3 separate regions of the Homo sapiens genome follow, and regions 1 and 3 are each linked to region 2. The links are contacts of gene promoters, found by promoter capture Hi-C in blood cells and fetal thymus (Javierre and others, 2016). All regions are on one chromosome and are shown on one strand. The core of a region is centred on a gene start or on the middle of the fragment in contact, and the rest is flanking DNA. Distances in the headings are between cores, read along the strand shown.

Evidence for each region. The method cuts DNA at HindIII sites, captures the fragments that hold promoters and counts their contacts. A CHiCAGO score of 5 or more calls a contact.
Region 1: a fragment that was not itself captured here is called in contact with the fragment with the promoter of FTX in region 2 in 1 of 17 cell types (M0 macrophages); the score reaches 6.7 in M0 macrophages.
Region 3: a fragment that was not itself captured here is called in contact with the fragment with the promoter of FTX in region 2 in 1 of 17 cell types (naive CD8 T cells); the score reaches 6.1 in naive CD8 T cells.

The regions. Positions count from the first base shown.
Region 1 is chrX:76,156,290-76,159,971 of GRCh38, reverse strand. No RefSeq gene overlaps it. Among named protein-coding and RNA genes, the nearest start is that of PBDC1, 15 kb to the left of the region's middle. The HindIII fragment of the contact is 4,234 bases long and covers 1-3,682 here.
Region 2 is chrX:74,292,111-74,296,164 of GRCh38, reverse strand. FTX (FTX transcript, XIST regulator) reads left to right here and starts at 2,591. Exons shown (of 7, transcript NR_028379.1): 1 at 2,591-2,813. It overlaps LOC124905199 (a long non-coding RNA gene), which reads left to right and starts at 3,569. Exons shown (of 2, transcript XR_007068266.1): 1 at 3,569-4,054. RefSeq lists an enhancer at 3,337-4,054. The HindIII fragment of the contact is 8,135 bases long and covers 1-3,496 here.
Region 3 is chrX:73,211,245-73,214,842 of GRCh38, reverse strand. NAP1L2 (nucleosome assembly protein 1 like 2) reads left to right here. Exons shown (of 1, transcript NM_021963.4): 1 at 1-2,544. The coding sequence starts at 351. The coding sequence ends at 1,733. Among named protein-coding and RNA genes, the nearest start is that of NAP1L2, 1.8 kb to the left of the region's middle. The HindIII fragment of the contact is 511 bases long and covers 1,178-1,688 here.

The sequences.
Region 1 (3,682 bases), core at 740-3,239, 1.9 Mb before region 2:
CTTATCAGAGCTCGAACACTGTGCTGGGAAATCCGCTGCTCTCTTCAGAGCTGCCAGGTAGGGACGTTTAAGTCTGCTGAAGCTGTGCCCCCAACCGCCCCTTCCCCCAGGTGCTCTGTCTCAGGGAGGTGGGTGTTTTATCTATAAGTCCCTGAATGGGGCTGCTGCCTTGTTTTCAGAGATGCCCTGCCCAGAGAGGAGGGAATCTGGAGAGGCAGTCTGGCTGCAGTGGCCTTGCTGAGTGAGGTGTGGTGGGCTCTGCCCAGATGGAATTTCTAGGCGGCTTTGTTTACACTGTGAGGGTGAAACCATCTACTCAGGCGTCAGCAATGGCAGACGCCCTTCCCCCCACCAAGCTGGAGCATCCCAGGTCGAGCTCAGACTGCTGTGGTAGCAGCGAGAATTTCAAGCCAGTGGATCTTAGCTTGCTGGGTTCCGTGGGGGTAGGACCCACCGAGCCAGACCACTTGGATCCCTGGCTTCAGCCCCCTTTCCAGGGGAGTGAACGGTTCTGTCTTGCTGGCGTTCCAGGTGCCACTGGGGTATGAAAAACTTCTGCGGCTAGCTCAGTGTCTGCCCAAATGGCCGCCCAGTTTTGTGCTGGAAACCCAGGGCCTTGGTGGTGTGGGCACCAGAGTGAATCTCCTGGTCTGTGGGTTGCCAAGACTGTGGGAAAAGCACAGTATCTGGGCCTAAGTGCAAAGTACAGTCCCTAATGACTTCCCTTGGCTAGGAGAGGGAGCTCCCGGACCCCTTGCGCTTCCCTGGTGAGGCAACACCCCACTCTGCTTTGGCTCACCCTCCTTGGGCTGCACCCACTGTTCAACCAGTCCCAGTGAGATGAACTGGGTACCTTAGTGGGAAATGTAAAAATCACCCACCTTCTGCATTGATCTCGCTGGGAGCTGCAGACTGGAGGTGTTCTTATTTGGCCATCTTGCCAGCCAGGGCTCCAGTGTTCCTTATTTCTTACATACGCTATATACCCCATGAAATTTGTCATTTAATCCCCCATATTTGTTGATCGCCTACTCAGAGCTATGTCCATATGTGTCTAAGACCTAGACATGTAGTGATGAAAAATGCACAGTACCCTCTTATAATGCACTCATCCTAGTGAGATATATTGTTATACTAAAACTGACCATTACCAAAAAAAAAAAAAAGACAGTAGTAATTATAATGATAGTGATTCCAAGGAATAGCACAGTGGCTGACACATATTAGAGGAGTGCCATGACTTTTTGTTGCATGAATGGATTAATGACAATACATTCAAAGCATTACTGGAAGACAAAGACATGAAAACTATCCTGTGACCATGCTGGAAGGCGCTTGACTCCTGAAGTGAATACATCTTAAGGTTAAGGTTAAAATCTCCTGACACATTAAGTTCCCATGAAAACCTTAGCAATTGCCACTTTTGATTGAATGTCTTCCATAGGTAAGGGTACAGAAATAATTATTGTTAACTGCTGAGTATGGATCACATAAGACTCAGACTGTCCCATACCAGTCTGTGTTAGTATATGAGTATGTGTGTGCACATATGTACATATGCATGTGCATGAATGCATTTAAGAAAAAGAGTGGGTCGGGTGTGGTGGTTCATGCCTGTAATCCCAGCAGTTTGGGAGGCCAGGATGGGTGGATCGCTTGAGCTCAGGAGTTCGAGACCAGCCTGGGCAACAGGGCAAAACTCCGTCTCTACTAACAATACAAAAAATTAGCTGGGCGTGGTGGTTCCAGCTACGTGGGAGGCTGAGGCGGGAGGATCACCTGAGCCTGGGAGGTGGAGGTTGCAGTGAACCAAGATCATGCCACTGCACTTCAGCCTGGGTGACAGAGTGAGACCCAATCTCAAAAAAAAAAAAAAAAAAAAAAAGAGAGAGAGAGAGAGAAAAGAAAAAGAAAAAGAGTGACACCTCTCCAACTATACCAGGGGCAGTACAAATGATCTGGAATCAGGATAGATTTAAATTCACCTCCTCCTTGGAAGTTACCAACCTTACTCTCATAGTTTCAGGGCCATGATGGTTTGTGGTTAAAGTTATGTCATCTTTTATTTCGGAGGTAACTGAGTTTTATTATCTATGTGAACTTAGGCAAGTCTCTTAAATGCAGAGTCTTGGCTTCTTCACTTTGAAAGTGAAGATTACAGACACATTTGACTTATGTGCTTATTTCAATGATGGAATTATATAAGACATGAATGTATGAGCTCTTAGCACAGGGACTAGAATACAGCAAATGCTCAGTAAATTATAGATTATTCAGAATGCCATGGACTTTCCAGACATAGCTCAGGTTTAAGCTCTAAGATTATTTTCTGCAAAGGTTATTTTGCTCCACATCTGCTAAGGGAGATACCTAGGTTGAGCATGGGGGAGAAATAGGCATATGTTAGCCCTAGTACTTGTGGGTCCAGCTGCAACTCCTTGATACTGTGGTGAGTTGGGGCTATCACACTGGATGTGCACTGACCTCAGACATGCCCATCTCTTTGCAGTGCATCATAGGCTTTCCCCAAGGGAAGTTCTGAAAGCCCCACTCAGAAAGCACAACACCAGGATGTTATAGACAAGACTTTGAACTTTAGAGGCAGGTAGCTCTGGATTTTAAAGAGGAAAATGAACTGAGCCCATGCTTTTTCTCTATATATCGTCCCTGTTTTCTCCTTCCCTTCATTGGCTTTGTTTACTCTGTCTCAATGCTTCCTTTCTTCCTTCTTTCTTGTTTTACTTTCTTATAGTCACAGAGCAATTTTTCATAGAAACATAAAACATTTTTAAATACTATTAACACTTGGTAATTCAAGCCCCATCTTTAAATTTTCTCAGCTAGAAATGTAGAAAAGTTTCTGCCTCCGTTGTGCTTTTTTTCTAACTAATCAGAACAATTTGGTCATTTAGGAATTGGACTAATTTTTCACTCAGAATTGTCTGAAACTTTTCTCACACCCATAATTCAGATCTCCTTTGTCATTCCATTCCATTCTCAGGTAAGGATATGGCACTGTATGTCAGAATATAACATCAAGCCTTCCTCTGTCTAAGCCTGGTGATAACATTGGTGGCCATCACACCCTGGCTGGGGCTACTAAGCATATTGCTGCAGAGCTCACTAGGTGAGCAGCCAGAGGAGAGATAGGAATGAGAGTAGTGATGAGCTTTTCCTGCTAACTTGGTATTTACTCTGTTCTGATTCAGACACATCTACAGGATAATTCAGGGCTCTGGACCAAGGAATAACCAGACATCTCTAAGAATGGCTCCTTGGTGCTGGTGGCACAAGAGTAACCTTTGTTTTGACCACCGGCCCACCAGTTGCACTGACCAACTGCTTTCAGATGGAGTTATTTAGGCTGTGCCAAGTGACTTGCACTGTTTCTGAACTCATAAATATAACTTGCAGCCCTCACTGGATTCATATTTGATCCCATGGGAGCTGGGCAAAGGAGACACACCTGAGAAGGCAATGTAGTCCTCTCTTCAAAATCACCACTTTCCTCAAATAGCCACAGTGTTACGTAGTTGGCCAAGCTGAGCTTCCCGGATATTACTTCCTAAGGATGTCATTTTCTAGTACCCTTTTTAGTCCCCAAATCAAAGAGTTATCTGATAGAAAAGAAATAGTATCTCACCATGATTAAAATTTTTATTACCTGATTAACTTTGATATT
Region 2 (4,054 bases), core at 1,342-3,841:
CTTTTTCTTTCTTTCCTTTTTTTTTTTTTTTGAGATGGAGTTTCACTCTATCACCCAGGCTGGAGGGCAGTGGCATGATCTCGGCTTACTATAACCTCTGCCTCCCAGGTTCAAGCGAGTCAGCTGCCTCAGCCTCCCGAGTAGCTGGGATTACAGGTGCCCGCCACCACGCCCAGCTAATTTTTGCATGTTTAGTAGAGACGGGGTTTCACCATGTTGGCCAGGCTGGTCTTGAACTCCTGACCTTAACTGATCTGCCTGCCTTGGCTTCCCAAAGTACTGGGATTACAGGTGCGAGCCACTGTGCTTGGCCCCCACCTCTTTTTTTTTTTTTTTTTAAATAGAGACAGGGTATTGCTATGTTGCCAAGGCTGGTTTCGAACTTGTGGTCTCAGGCAATCTTCCTGCATTGGCCTCCCAAAGTGCTGGGATTACAGGCATGAGCCACCACGCCCAGCCAAAACATTATATATTTGAACAAAAATCATAAGAGAACACAAAGATGCTTGCTATGGTTTGAATATGTCTCTCAAAGTTCATATGTTGGAAATTTGATGCCCCATGTGGTGGTGTTGGGAGGTGAGGCTTAAAGGGAGGTGTTTGAGTCATGGGGGCACCACTCTTATGAATAGCTTAATGCTATTATTGAGGGAGTGGGTTTGTTATTTCAGTAGTGGGTTCCTTATTAAAGGATGAGTTCTGGCCCCCTCTTGCGCGCACTCTCTCTTTCTCTATCTCTTTGCCCTTCCACCATGGGATGATGTAGCAGGAAAGCCACTGTCAGATGCCAGCTCCTCAGTCTTGGACTTCCCATTCTCCAGAACTGTGAGGAAATAAATTTCTGTTCTTTATAAATTGCCGAGTCTGCAGTATTTTGTTACAGTGGTACATAATGGACTAAGACAATACTAATGGGTATGAAGTTTCTTTTTGGGGTGATGAAAATATTCTAAAATTGATTGTAGTGGTGGCTGCATAATTCTGTGAATATACTAAAATCCATTGCATTGTACACTTTAAGTTGGTTAACTGTATGATATGTAAATTATATATTAATAAAACCATTAAAACAGAAAAATAACAGAGATAAGAGCATTTGTTAAAATAGTGTTGTAGAATTTGGGGTAAAATTTCTTATATTTTAACTTTTGTGTAATAATAAATGATTATTTTAATTTAGAAGAGGTTCTTTGTACCACTGAGATTTCGGCATTTCTTTTTTATTTAATGCATGCCTATTTCTCTTTTTTCTTCTTCATATGCACATTGTTGTATAATTTTTTGGGCGTATTATATAACAAATGCAAACCCATTTTTCTCTGAATAATGTTGATATAACATTCTTAAGTTAATTTGAGAGGATGGTGATGTATAAGTTTATGAGTTTTAGGATTTATGAATTTGCGGGTCTCAGTTTTTGGTATTTCCAAACTGGCTCTTTTAGAAAGCAATAAGAACCAGACACCAAAGTAAAACATAATAAAGAGAAACAAAATATTATTTTGTATTCTTTCTAGTTCACACCCAAAGAGGGATCTATTTCAGAGCCTCTTAAGTAAATAATGCCATTTCCCTCAAAATTAATATTTGAGTTCTTACAGAAGACAAGAACAGGCCTTGTAGTAAGCAGTGAAGGACATTGAATCTCATTTTTAATGTCCAGACAATACCAGGGTTGTGAATAGAAAGAAAAGAGCTTTCCATGTTGGTGGTCTACTGCCTCTTACCCCCAAATTGATTGAACACTTTTGCAGTTTTTGTTCTGGTTCCCTGTCTCTGGATCTTCCCTGTGGGTCATCATCAAAAAGGTGTTCTCTTTGCCCAAGACAGGCTGGTTGAGCTCACCCTGAGAGCTGCTTTGGAGAGGATGTGTGGAAATATTTTTTTTCTTTTTTTGAGATGGGGTCTCACTCTGTTGCCCAGGCTGGCAACATCATAGCTGGCACAATCATAGCTCACTGTAGCCTCGACTTCCTGGGCTCGAGTGATTCTTCCACCTCAGCCTTCTGAATAGCTGGGAGTACAGGTGCGCACCACCACGCCCGGCTAATTTTTGTATTTATTTGTAGAGACGGGGTTTCGCCATGTCACCCGAGCTGGTCTCGAACTCCTGAACTCAAGGGTTCCGTCCACCTCGGCCTCCCAAAGTGCTGGGATTACAGGTGTGAGCCACCGCGCCCGGGCTACAATTATTTAAAAAAAAATTTTTGCGGTAATTTTTACAAATTTCAACATCAGGCATAGGAGGAGAGGAGTAAGAGGCCCAAGAGGGCTGCAGACTGGCAGGGAAAGTGAAGAATTGAAGGGTAGACCACTAACGATAGCAGAGGAAATAAAGGTAGATGGTGGGCTAAGAATAATGGGAGAGGGATTGACGAAAGAAGTATGGGCTGAGGGAGGGATGATGGTGGAGGCCAGTGTGACCGAGGGGAGGGGAAAGGTGGAAGAAGCAGAGTGGGATAGCGTCCTGGGAAAGAAGTGAAGGAGGTCGGTGGACCGCTAAGGGTTAGACTCCTAGAGGCTGGAGAGCGGCGCGTGGGGGAGGCGGGGCGCGGAGGGGGGGTTAAGGGGCGTTAGCAGCGCATGCGCTGGAAGCACACTGCGGCGATTCTGGAGAGGTTGTCCTTTTCTGGCATCAGCGTTGCGGCTCGAGGCAAAGCTGGTCCTGTGCCTGCTGTCCATTGCCGCTAAGGCCTGCTGCTGCCATTCAGGCGTGTCTCTCTCTCTCTCTCTCTTTCATGCCGCTCTCTCCACCCCATCTTGGGACGGCCAGCTCTAAGAATTCCTGCTACGACACTGAATTCAACCAGGAGGTAAAGGAACGATGTAGGGGAAGAACAGAACATGGAGGGCGGCGGAGGGAACTTGGGCCAGGAAGATCCTTAATTTGTGCATTTTTCCAGTTCACGGGAGGAAAAAATGGAATACGTTACAGGCCCCAGTTTTCCAAAAGGATGTTGAGCATTTGCTTCCCATTGTGAAAGGAATGCGGGTTCCTTTCCTCTAACTAGAGTCAAGGCACCTGAGCATCGGTGTTTTCCATAATGTTCCCTGTTTAAAACATTTGTGGTTCGTCATTTGTAGCAGATGTATTTAAAGGGCGAGGCCTTAGGATTATGTTCATCCGATGGTTTGTGAAAGTTTTCCTTGCCTTTGTTCAGGTTGACCGGTCTTATGTGAATCCTGGGGTACTCTAGCCCCCTCCCTTGGAGTTGGGACCGATTCCATCTAGATCTGGGATTCACTCTGATCACCTGCAACGCCTTCTTTCCCCGATTCAACTTCCCTAGTTTATCGCATCTACTCGCATTAGGGAAGGCTGGTAATGGCTCTCCTTGGGCACTGGGGCAGAATTGTGGCGAGAAACACGTCCAGATAGCATCAGGCATGCATACTGTATACAAATGGGAGCAAGAAGAGAGAGGACTATCGCGGTGCGCAGGGTATTTGAGAGGCTGGATGAGGAGGCGCGGCGCCGAGGGGCGGCGCTCAAGCTTACAGTATTTGAGAAGACCTGAGTTAAGGGGACGGGCTCCAGTGGGGCGGGGGTGGGGAGAGGGAGGCACGCATGCGCAAGGCTTGAATGGCGTCGGGGTTGGAGGGTTGGAAGGTCGGGAAGTGAAGGACTCGCAGGCATATTTAACAACGCAAAGTTGCTAGGAGTTGGTACCAGCGTTTGGGAGGTAGAGGTGGCGCTCATGCATATTTGAGACAACATCTGGATGGTTGGGGAGAACGGTAAGGAGGAAGCGGCGCGCATGCGTATTTCAGACGGAGTGCCGGGGAGGGGAGGCGCTCAGCATTCGGGTAATTAAGGTTGCAAAATGGCGAGGGGGGAGGTAAGCTGTCTTTGCTTGGCCATCTTGGGCTAGCAGGCCTTGCAGAGAACTACCTTTTTAGCTGAGTGAAGGGATCAACCTGAGTTGGAGTTCTCCTATGCTGTGGCCAGATCCACTAGAAATTAACCCAGAATCTTAGCCTCTCAGTGGCCTATCGGTAAGTGGGTACAAAAATGAGGAGGCGATGATGACTCTGCAAAAGGTTGCGGCAGCTG
Region 3 (3,598 bases), core at 184-2,683, 1.1 Mb after region 2:
CTGCGTAATCATACTGCGGCACCGTTTTTTTCTTGCAGCAGTAGCTGCTTGCGGAGGAGGTCTGCCCACTGCAGCTCTCTGCAGTCTCCGGCTCTCTCCTGCAGGATCGGTCAACGCAGCCGTCGCCGCCCTCTGCACCCAGCCCAGGTCGCCACTGCTTCAGTCCGGTTCTCAAAGCCTCAGCACCATCTTTTATCCCCGAGCAGCCTGGATCGTCGTTCCCTCAGTCCGGACGCCACTGCTAGGTCCGACCACCGCCGCTTCTGATATTTCGGTGAGTCTTTTCCTGTGGAGGTTTGGTCTCCCGATCTCTGTGGTAGCCACCTTAGGCGTGTACGGTCCTTTGAAAAATGGCCGAGTCAGAGAACCGCAAGGAGCTGTCAGAATCCAGTCAAGAAGAGGCTGGTAATCAGATAATGGTGGAAGGGCTCGGGGAACATCTGGAGCGCGGTGAAGATGCCGCTGCTGGGCTTGGAGACGATGGGAAGTGCGGTGAAGAAGCTGCCGCTGGGCTTGGGGAAGAAGGGGAAAACGGTGAAGATACTGCTGCTGGGTCCGGGGAAGATGGGAAAAAAGGTGGCGATACTGATGAGGACTCAGAGGCAGACCGTCCAAAAGGACTTATCGGTTATGTTTTAGATACAGACTTTGTTGAAAGTCTACCTGTGAAAGTTAAGTACCGTGTGTTAGCCCTTAAAAAGCTTCAAACTAGAGCGGCCAATTTAGAATCCAAATTCCTGAGGGAATTTCATGACATTGAAAGAAAGTTTGCTGAAATGTACCAACCCTTACTGGAAAAAAGACGTCAGATCATCAATGCAATCTATGAACCTACAGAAGAGGAATGTGAATATAAATCAGACTCTGAGGACTGTGATGATGAGGAAATGTGTCATGAAGAGATGTATGGTAATGAGGAGGGTATGGTACATGAATATGTGGATGAGGACGATGGTTATGAGGACTATTATTATGATTATGCTGTGGAAGAGGAGGAGGAGGAGGAGGAGGAGGACGACATTGAGGCTACTGGAGAAGAGAATAAAGAAGAGGAGGATCCTAAGGGAATTCCTGATTTTTGGCTAACTGTTTTAAAAAACGTTGATACACTCACTCCTTTGATTAAGAAATATGATGAGCCTATTCTGAAGCTCCTGACAGATATTAAAGTTAAGCTTTCAGATCCTGGCGAGCCCCTCAGTTTCACACTAGAATTTCACTTCAAACCCAATGAATATTTCAAAAATGAGTTGTTGACAAAGACCTATGTGCTGAAGTCAAAGCTAGCATATTATGATCCCCATCCCTATAGGGGAACTGCGATTGAGTATTCCACAGGCTGTGAGATAGATTGGAATGAAGGAAAGAATGTCACTTTGAAAACCATCAAGAAGAAACAGAAACATCGGATCTGGGGAACAATCCGAACTGTAACTGAAGATTTTCCCAAGGATTCATTTTTCAATTTTTTCTCTCCTCATGGAATCACCTCAAATGGAAGGGATGGAAATGATGATTTTTTACTTGGTCACAATTTACGTACTTACATAATTCCAAGATCAGTATTATTTTTCTCAGGTGATGCACTGGAATCTCAGCAGGAGGGGGTAGTTAGAGAAGTTAATGATGCAATTTATGACAAAATTATTTATGATAATTGGATGGCTGCAATTGAGGAAGTTAAAGCTTGTTGCAAAAACCTTGAGGCATTAGTAGAAGACATTGATCGTTAGAGCAGAGTATACATGGCCCTGAAATTAACTGCCCTAGATATAGTTACTCAAGGTATAAGAAGCCTTGTGTTCTGTATTTTTCTTGTAGTGTTAGTTAAAACATATGTTTCAAAAATATAAGAAAAGTTCAAAAACTAATTAATTTGACCTTGAGTTTTAGTAGTAGAATGTTTTCAAGAAATGTACACTGTGGTAAATGATTTAAAACACTAGTATAGTGTTGTGTAGCTTAATCCTTCTGAAGTCTTTTTGTCATGTAGCTATTAATCTGTGGCTATGAAATGATCAGAAATGCTAAGTGAGATCAATATTTGTTTGGAAAAAAAATCTTGGGAAACAACCCAAGGGTTTTCGCTGTTGTTGTTTTTCTTTTTCTATTTTTGTTTACTTAGTCCTTTAGCTAGTGGATTTAATTTTGTTGTGCCTGCTTCATTTTGCAATAACAATGCAGTAGAATTTAAAACTTGGATGCTTAAGAGGCCTGCATATAGATAAGAATTTCAGGCAAAACTACATTTATTGTTAATAACAGCTTGTTCATAGGCTCTTGTATTTTATGTAACTGTGATAAATAATGAAACTTAGTTATATTGAGGTTATTGTTTGTCGGTGAAGTGTTAGTCACAGTATTTTCAAAAGTTTGCACATATTGTTCTGTGTAATTGTGTAAGCCATAATTACAGTGTTTAATTCTCTTTTCCTATTACATCATTCATTGAAAGTGATCACTTTACCATTTTGAAAAGATATTTCGTGTTCTTTCACTGCAAAATAAAAAGAATAAAAATTTCAGAGTGTCTCATGTTTAAAACTTAATGTATTTCTTGTTATAAAAGTAATATGTTCATTGGGGGACATTTGGGCAATACTGAAAAAATTCATTAATTAAACACAAAATCCATATACCACCCACCTACCCCAAAATAAGCACTGTTAATGTTTTGATTTATTTTCTACAATTATATTTCTATATGTTTATACACGCATGCAGATTTACTAAGACTATACTAAAATGTGCAAAGAAAGTATACCTTTCTTAGTGTTTATAATTGATCTGTTCATAATCTCAAGTCTACTTTCACTACACAAGGTTGCAGGGAAACAAAATTCTCAATTCTAATCAATCCAGTAATCTCAGTGCTATTTAATAATTTAAGCACCCTTTTGAAATAACAGGTTCCTGTGTGTTAGTTTGTATTTCATATTTCTTGCCTACCCTTCCACAGTGTCATCTGGATATATATGGGATTGCATTACTAATTGTGGCTGGGCTTGGAGTGCAGTGCCCTGATTCAGGAAAATGGGATGTGGTTGATCAGACCCTTGTCCCAGAGCTGACTTTGCCTTTCTTGCATGTGGAAACAGGCTTTGCTTCTCCCTTTGGCAGACTCTGAAAAGGTCACATTCATACCTCTAGTACAAGAGAGAACTTCTTGGTCCCCTCCATGCCACGTGGGAACTGAGAGTGACTAGGAAATGCTAACTCTGTCTCTTTATTGCTGCCTATCCACTCTTCCATCCCAGGTGGTTGGATGGATGTGATCTTGCACAAATATAAACCAAAAGTGGAGCAGAAGTTCTGTCTGTGACTTATTCTTCCACTATTAAACATGCCTCCTCCTTCAGATCTTGACCCAGACAGGTAAGTTTATAGCAGTGCCAACTTTTCATATTTCTGTTTCATACCTCTCTACAATCAACTGAGGAAGAAATTATGAGCTTTTTCTTTCCTTTTCCTGTCTGTACAGGACTCTCCTCTAATGTTAAATCTTTCTCCCAAAGACGGGGTAGATGTTCCCTGCTTTTCCCTGTGGTTGCAATAGTTGACAGGATATGGGGAAACAGACAACTTACTATTATAAGGA